Regions from separate parts of the Homo sapiens genome. Here regions 1 and 3 are each linked to region 2. The links are contacts of gene promoters, found by promoter capture Hi-C in blood cells and fetal thymus (Javierre and others, 2016). All regions are on one chromosome and are shown on one strand. Each heading gives the region's core, a stretch centred on a gene start or on the middle of the fragment in contact. The rest is flanking DNA. Distances are from core to core; before and after follow the strand shown.

Evidence for each region. The method cuts DNA at HindIII sites, captures the fragments that hold promoters and counts their contacts. A CHiCAGO score of 5 or more calls a contact.
Region 1: a contact is called between a fragment that was not itself captured here and the fragment with the promoter of SLC14A2 in region 2, in 1 of 17 cell types (naive CD4 T cells). The highest score is 5.9, in naive CD4 T cells.
Region 3: a fragment that was not itself captured here is called in contact with the fragment with the promoter of SLC14A2 in region 2 in 1 of 17 cell types (naive CD8 T cells); the score reaches 6.0 in naive CD8 T cells.

The regions. Positions count from the first base shown.
Region 1 is chr18:45,981,761-45,984,516 of GRCh38, reverse strand. It overlaps PSTPIP2 (proline-serine-threonine phosphatase interacting protein 2), which reads left to right. Exons shown (of 15, transcript NM_024430.4): 15 at 1-981. Among named protein-coding and RNA genes, the nearest start is that of EPG5, 16 kb to the right of the region's middle. The HindIII fragment of the contact is 777 bases long and covers 1,025-1,801 here.
Region 2 is chr18:45,614,144-45,617,059 of GRCh38, reverse strand. It overlaps SLC14A2 (solute carrier family 14 member 2), which reads right to left and starts at 1,584. Exons shown (of 20, transcript NM_007163.4): 1 at 1,478-1,584. All of the region lies in intron 8 of LOC105372093 (a long non-coding RNA gene), which reads left to right. The HindIII fragment of the contact is 14,354 bases long and covers 1-2,916 here.
Region 3 is chr18:45,915,692-45,918,534 of GRCh38, reverse strand. It overlaps EPG5 (ectopic P-granules 5 autophagy tethering factor), which reads left to right. Exons shown (of 44, transcript NM_020964.3): 17 at 716-856; 18 at 1,953-2,097; 19 at 2,329-2,526. Among named protein-coding and RNA genes, the nearest start is that of EPG5, 50 kb to the left of the region's middle. The HindIII fragment of the contact is 970 bases long and covers 1,109-2,078 here.

The DNA of each region.
Region 1 (2,756 bases), core at 164-2,663, 370 kb before region 2:
TTGATTCCATTCCTCAAGATAATTTTAGAGTTATAAAACCAGTCCTCAATTTTGGGTCTTCACAGAGAATCTTTCCCTTGCTAGACCCCAGAATTTTAAATGCATCCGTCTTACACTTTCACAAATATTTGGGTTTTCCTTTTTCACTCACAAACAGCAGGGAGGTCATGTACTTTTTGTACAACACCTGTGCACTATGAGAAAATGGTACCTTTTAGTTATTGACAAGTTAAAATAGCACTCTCAGTTTTTCAGTATTACAGAGAGCAAATAGTTTCCTCTCCTGCTCTGTGCAGTAGCTTTTCCAGAACTATGGACAAATTGATCAGAAGAAGATTGATTATTTCCTCATCTTTTTTTCTTTTTTTTGAGACAGAGTCTCTCTCTGTCCCCCAGGCTGAAGTGCAGCGGCATGATCTCAGCTCACTGCAACCTCTGCCTCCCGGGTTCAAGTGATTCTCCTGCCTCAGCCTCCTGAGTAGCTGGGATTACAGGCACCCACCACCACACCTGGCTAATTTTTTGTATTTTTAGTAAAGACAGGGTTTTACCATGTTGGTCAGGCTGGTCTCAAACTCCTGACCTCAGGTGATCCACCTGCCTCGGCCTCCCAAAGTGCTGGGATTACAGGCGTGAGCCACTGCGCCCGGCCTATTTCCCCACCTTTCGTGTAAGGTGCTACTGAACATGACAGCTTCTTGTCATGACAGGAAACTTGCATCAGTTGGATATCCTTTTGAGAAACTGAATTTTGCAAAGGGCCAAATTTCCCCAAACTGAACGGGCTCAGGAAATGTTCCTTTACACTCAGAACATTCTATTTTAAGTATATTATTTATTGTTGGCAGTTCCTCAGGGATTTCCCTTTTCTCTGTATTGGTCAGTGTAGTTGATGTAAAACCGTTTTGTGGATGGAAAATATTTTTATTTTATTGCTCTTTTAGTTTGGTAGGTTAAATAAAGGTTCTTGGTAATTTGGGATTTGTTTCGTATTTTTGTGTTGACCATATCGCTCTTCCAAGCTTTATTTGATCCCTTGCCACATTTGTGATTGTTAGGCTTCAAAAAGACAAACCGCTGGTCAGGGAAGCCAAATGGAGATGGTGCCGAACTACTTTGTACTAATCCTTCAGAGGTCAATTGCAGTGTTACTTCCTCTGCGAGACACCATCTCTGCCTTCAGACTAGGTTGGATCCAACTACTGTATCTCTCCTCCCCCTCCATTTTCCTTGTTATGATATGATTCACCCTTGAAATTAATTGTTCAAAGCCTGTCTTCCTTTTTAGACTGGAACCCCAATGGTAGCAGGGCCATTGTCTATTCTTTTTCCTGCTGTATCTCCAGCACCTGGCACATAGTAGAGACTATGAAAGAATTAGTGGCCCATAAGAAAACATAGCTAGAGAAACAACCACTTGAAAGAGAAATAAGGAGTGCAAAGTGAGTGAAGCCAAACGAGTACATGTGTTAAATTTAGTAAATGTGAGCTATTCTACAGACTGTTGGTATATTAATTTGGGTTCCATCAGAAGCAGACCCCGAGATAAGGATTTGTGTACAAGTACTTTTTCCAGAAAGTGCCAGTATGGAAGTGGGGAAGCCAGATAGGGAAAGGAAGAAAGGCAAAAACAGTGTGCATTATCAAGTAAGCTACATGGCAGGCAGCTGGAGCTTACTCTTGTTGAAGACTCCCAGGAAACAGTGCAGAACACACAACTGGGGCTGGGTGCGGTGTAATCCCAGCACTTTGGGAGGCCGAGGCAGGTGGATCACCTGAGGTCAGGAGTTCGAGACAAGCTTGGCCAACATGGTGAAATCCTGTCTCTATTAAAAATTAAAAAATTAGCTGGGCATGGTGCGCGTGCCTGTAATCCCAGCTACTCAGGAGGCTGAGGCAGAAGAATTGCTTGAACCCGGGAGGTGGAGGTTGCAGTAAGCCAAGATCGCGCGCCACTGCACTCCAGCATGGGCAACAGAGTGAGACTCTGTCTCAAGAAAAAAAAAAAAAAAAAAAGAACACACACACACTTAGGAGATATTGCACCTAAGCCACAAGGGAGCTGGAGTATTTATTCACCAACTCCTGTCAGTCACTGGTTGCAGAATGCTCCTAGGAGGCATTAATTTCCCAGCACTTCTGGGCTGCCTCCAACGCTGGAGAGTGGGAACAGTCTGAGAGGGTCCTTAGGCAGGAACACAGTTCCTGACAGTTGGAACTGTGTGTTTAAGGAATTGAGAGGTACTGAAGGGATGTGGATGGGGCATTGACAGCATCTGACCCCACATGGTTCAGATGCATCCATACCCCACTTTTTACTCCATCCTATCACTACTTCTTCAAGTCCCAACTTCCAAAAACAGACACACACACATACAAAGGAAACAGTTAGCAGGACCAGCTATATTTCCTGTTCTTACAGATAATCTTAAATCCATAATTGATATTCATCATCTCCTTCCTCCCCCTACTATTATGGATGAATCATGCACCCCACCCTCACACACAATTCATATGTTGAAGTCCCAGCTGCCAGCCAGTACTTCAGAATGTGGCCATGTTTGGAGACAGAGCCTTTAAAGAGGTGATTAAATTGAAGGGAGGCCGTTGAGGTGGGGCCCTAATCCTAGTGACTGGTGTTCTCCTAAGAAGAGGAAGAGGCCAGATGCGGTGGCTCATGCCTGTAATCTCAGCACTTTGGGACGCCAAGGCTGGCAGAGCACTTGAGGTCAGGAGTTTGAGACCAGCCTGGCCAA
Region 2 (2,916 bases), core at 335-2,834:
GTGGCGCAATCTCGGCTCCCTGCAACCTCCACCTCCCGGGTTCAAGCAATTCTCCTGCCTCAGCCTCCTTAGTAGCTGGGACTACCGGCGCACACCACCATGCCCAGCCAATTTTTTGTATTTTAGTAGAGACGGGGTTTCATCATGTTGCCCAGACTGGTCTCAGACTCCTGAGCTCAGGCAATCCGCCCACCTTGGTCTTTCAAAGTGCTAGGATTACAGGTGTGAGCCACTGCACCCGGTCCTTATGTGACACTTCTAAAGTGGGGTGACCCTTCAATGTTCCACATATTGAGCCCTCTCATCCCATGAATAAATGGCAATTTATTTATTGCCTCTTGCATTCCATCAGTTGCAATTATTCAGCCATCGAGTTCTCCTTCAGAGCCCTCAGTCTGGATCAGCCCATTATCTCCCTTTAAGCCAGGCCCTCCCCAACGCAGGTCACCTTCTAGCTGATTTCCCTCACTTCAGTCTCCCCAGTTTTTCTCCACCTTGCCACTGGTGATGGGTAAATTATCTTAAAACATGACTTGGTCGTGCCACTGCTCAAAAACCTTCTGAGGTGCTCCATGTCTGAGTGCTTCGCTCCTGAAACTGGGCATGAAACTCTGAGCCAGAGTAGTCAATGCCCAGGGCACTGAGAAGCACAGTTTTCTGGAATGCTGATTGAGCTTGATATGAACTAATATAGAATAATAGTTGTATATTTAAGCAAACATGGTTTATAAAATAGTCAAATGCAACTCTTTATATTATTAAAATAAAATATAAAGGGAAGAAATGTAGAGTCTGCAGGTGGCTGCTTCAGGCTGTGCCCACCTATTACGTAGGGGTAATGTGTCAATTCTCCCATCAGTTGAGGCTACTTAGGGGGAGAAGTTAAAAAGCTCTGAAGATAGCAACTGTTCTCAATCTCCCTCGGTTCTACCCAGGGGTGCTCCACTTGTGCCCAAGACAATTTTCAGCTTCTCTGCAGTGTGTGCCACTGTTCTGGGCAGGTGGCCTCCTGAGGTCCCACAGCTACCTCCAATTCAGTTCCACATGCACGAATATTGATCTCCTTTACTCACACACATCCTGCTCACACACCCACCCCTAACATGGCCATGGTGCCTTCCTGGCCTCTTAGGAGCATGGTGACCTCTGCTCTGGCTTGTGTGGTGGACTATTTCACAATGTAGTAGTCTCTCTCTCTCCCTCTCTCTCTCTCTCTCTCTCTCACACACACACACACACACATACACCCCTACACATACACACATGCACACATACTTATATACACAAGCTGCCCCGAGGTGGCTCTAGGTAGTTAATTTTAGTGTTATTAGACAGTGGTGGCACAGTGGAGACAGAATACCTGGATTCAAATCCTGGCTCCCCCACTGCAATAGTCCATTCTCATACTGCTATAAAGAACTACCTGAGAGTGGGTGATTTATTAGAAAAAAAAAAAAAAGAAATTTAATTGACTCACACTTCCACATTGCTGGGGAGGCCTCAGGAAACTTACAGTCATGGTGGAAGGCGAAGGGGAAGCAAACTTGGACCTTCTCAAATGGCGGCAGAAGAGAGAGATGGTGTGGAGCAGGAACTTGCCAAACACTTATAAAACCATCAGATCTTGTGAGAATTCACTCACTATCACGAGAACAGCATGGGGGAAACCGCTCCCATGATCCAGTCACCTTGCCCTGGGTCCTGCCCTCAACATATGGGGATTACTGGGATTACAATTTGAGATGATATTCAGGTGTGGACACAGAGCCAAACCATATCATTCTGCCCCTGGCCCCTCCCAGATATTATGTTCTTTATACATTTCAAAACAAAATTGTGCCTTAGCAACAGTCCCCCAAAGTCTTAACTTATTCCAGTATTAACTTGAAAGTCAAAGTCCAAAGTTTCATCTGAGGCAAGGCAAGTCCCTTCCACCTATGAGCCAGTAAAATCAAAAGCAAATGGCCGGGTGCGGCGGCCCACGCCTGTAATCCCAGCACTTTGAGAGGCCGAGTCGGGTGGATCACTTGACGTCAGAAGTTCGAGACCAGCCTGGCCAATGTGGTGAAACCCTGTCTCTACTAAAAATACAAAAATTAGCAGGGTGTGGTGGCACACACTTGTAGTCCTAGCTACTGGGAGGCTGAGACAGAAGAATCTCTTGAACCTGGGAGGTGGAGGTTGCAGTGAGCCAAGATAGTGCCAATGTACTCCAGCCTGGGTGACAGAGCAAACTGTGTCTCAAAAAAAAAAAAAAAAAAAAAAGCAAGTTAGTTACTTCCAAGATACAGTGGGGGTGCAGGAGGCATTGGATAAATGCTCCCATTTCAAATGGGAGAAATTGGCCAAAACAAAGGGCTACAGGCCCCACGCAAGTCCAAAATCCAGTGGTGCAGTCATTAAATCTTAAATCTCAAAAATAATCTCCTTTGACTCCATGTCTCATATCCAGGTCATGCTGATGCAAGAGGTGGGCTCCCACAGACTCAGGCAGCTCTGCTTCTGTGGCTTTGCAGGGTATAGCTCTCCTCCTGCTGCTTTCGCAGGCTGGTGTTGAGTGTCTGTGGCTCTTCCAGGTGCAGAGTGCAAGCTGACAGTGGATTTACCATTCTGGGGTCTGGAGTACGGTGGTCCTCTTCTCACAGCTCCACTAGGCAGTCCTCCAGTGGGGACTCTGTGTGGGGGCTCCAACTTCACATTTCCCTTCTGCACTGCCCTAGCAGAGGTTCTCTATGAGGTCTCTACCCCTGCAGCAAACTTTTGCCTGGACATCCTGGCGTTTCATACATCCTCTGAAATCTAAGTGGAGGTTCCCAAACCTCAATTCTTGACTTCTGTGCACCTGCAGGCTCAACACCACATGGAAGCCGCCATGGGTTGAGGCTTGCACCCTCTGAAGCAATGGCCTGAACTGTA
Region 3 (2,843 bases), core at 344-2,843, 300 kb before region 2:
ATTCTTTGAAGTGAGGCAGAGAATAAAACTTTTATGCCAAATTGGTTTTAGCAGAATTTTGCAGTTTATGCAGGTTGAGTATCCCTAATCTGAAAATCTAAACTTTGAAATGCTCCAAAATCTGAAACTTTGAGTTCTGACATTGCACTCAAAGGAAATGTTCATTGGGGCATTTTGGATTTGGGACTTTTGGATTAGGGATGCTCAGCTTTTAAGTATGATACGAGTGTTCCAAAATCTAAAATACTTGGTCTCAAGCATTTCAGTTAAGGGATAGTCAACCTGTACTGACAGATTGAGGTCACTTTTGAGTCTCCTCTTTGCTGTGATACCTTGTGGGAATATCCAGACAAGGAGAGTCCCTACGGCTCTTAGGAGAAGCTCTTTTTGAGAAATAAAATATGGTAGTAGAGAGCACTCTGGATTAGAAATTTGCAAACTGGCGTTCTCATTTTGACCTTACTCTAGGAAATTATGTGAATTTGGGCATGATACTTCACCTTCCTCATCCATACAATGAAAATAAAGATTAACTTTTAAGTTTCTTTGCAATTCTAGAATTCTGGGTTTAGTATTTCTGTGTGAAGATTGGGTATAAAACATGTGTTGGAGACCTGAGATAACCCAAGGTATTGAAGGCTCATAACTCATTGGAAGAACAGAATTTTATGAACCAGCTCCCTTGTGTATTCAGTGCCTTTCTCTTTTTCCATAGCATTGAGAAGTTCTGTGCAGAAGGCATCCCACTATTGGGAATTCTGGTCCAGTCAAGACATTTGAGAACAGTGGTTCATGTCCTGGATAAGATTCTGCCTTTATTTTACCCTTGCCAGTATTACCTTCTGAAGAATGAGCAGTAAGTGTGTTCCATCTATGGCAGGAGACACTCTTAAACAGTCCAGCAAGTACAAATGATTGTGTCTTCTGGTTTCTTAAGTAAAATAAAGGGAATGCTATTTCAACAGCGTATTATGGGGCAAAAATATTCTGCACCCCAGTTTAGAATGCAGGTTGATGAACAGTGATTCTAATAATGACTCCAGTTTTATTACCATGAAAGATATTTTTCCTTTTCATTTATTATAACTTTGAATTGCTTATTAAAGCTTAATAGTATATGAAGGAGCAGTTGTTTCCCTGAGATTCTGGGAATCGTGCTTCTGATATTAAGCAGCAAATGGTTTGCCATTGTAACAATAGAAAAGATTGTTTTAAATTGTTTACAGTGCACATAGTGCAGTGTTGCAAACAGATAAGATGCTAGGAAGGTGGGAAGAGAACAACCTGTCTAGGGAGGCAAGAGTAAAGCATCTGGCTGGGGCCTCATGAACAGTGATGAAAGGGGAGGTGAGGCCTCACCCCATATGGAGGAACCCTGTACAGTGGGGACATGAAGTACATCCAAAGGCACAAGGGGAGCATTACAGTTTTCCTGTTATGTGTCTTTTCAAGCAGTATGTCTCCAATTTGCCCAAAAGAGCTTATTAAATATGGATTCCCAGGTTTCTCCCCCGGAGATGTTACTTTAGTAGAAATGGGTTAGGTCCTGGGAACTACTCACCTAACCCTTCAACCCCTTTTTAAGAATCAGCACCCTGGGTATGAGGCAAGTTTGGAAACTGAATGGTTTGGAAACATCTCTGCCTTTATTCATGGAGTTGGGGAGTGAGGAGGGGAGAGTGGTGCCTTTGGGTGTTTTTCCTCTAATGCTGTTTAACTTGCATGTGTTTGTGTGTCGTGGATCTGTTCTTAATACCTCTGTGGGTAGATAGAATTCCTTTTAACCCATGTTAAATGTGAAAACTTTATTCTTCTAGAATCCCTTCTTAAATAGTGCTTTGGTCGAAAAATGGGACCAATTTAGGAATTTTCTGTTTCCTCATAAGTAATTAGGGAAAATTCTGTTGAGTTCTGATCGGAAGGTAAAGTGCGTCCTCCTGTGTGCTTGGCAGGTTTTTATCGCATCTCCTCTTGTTCCTACACTTGGACAGCGGTGTCCCTCAGGGTGTCACACAACAGGTCACCCACAAGGTGGCACAGCACCTGACAGGAGCCAGCCATGGGGACAACGTGAAGCTTCTCAACAGCATGATCCAGGTGAGGGCCTTGCAAGCCCCTAAGCACACTCCCGCCTGTCTTCCCAACCAAGACCTCTAGCGTTAGCACACTTAGGTTTTAGTCATTTCAGATCACTTGGCTTAGTGTGCTTTTGGCCAAGAAAGGCAATAGATTTGGGATTTGTAGTGGAGGTAGATAGCATTTTGTTGCTATTTAAAAAATGAGAGGCTGGTTGTTATCTTTCCCATCACATGAGCCTTTTCTCCACAGGCACACATATCTGTAAGCACTCAGCCCAATGAAGTGGGCCCCGTTGCTGTGTTGGAGTTCTGGGTTCAGGCTCTCATAAGCCAGCATCTCTGGTACCGAGAACAACCTATCCTCTTCCTCATGGACCACTTGTGTAAAGCAGCTTTTCAGCTGATGCAGGAAGACTGCATACAGAAATTACTCTACCAACAACATAAGGTAATTAACCTGTTAGAGAATTTATCTTTCAGTGATTGGCTAGATAAAGTAGCTTTCTAAAAAGATTCCCCCAAGTACAGTTTTCAGTTCTACTCTGTGGCCATTACCTTCTTTAAGCTTTGCCTTAATGGTACCTTATCCCGATAATCGTAGTCCACTAGCGTAGACCCTAGGGAAGTTGGAAAGGACAGCCCAGGAAGAGTCCCGCTTGTTACATTTGGCTGTAATGCTCTGCCTTGGACTATTGCTGCTGGTGGACTCATCCTTGAAATCTCTGTCTTATCAGAATCTTGTATTGTAGTAAGACAGTTGCTGAT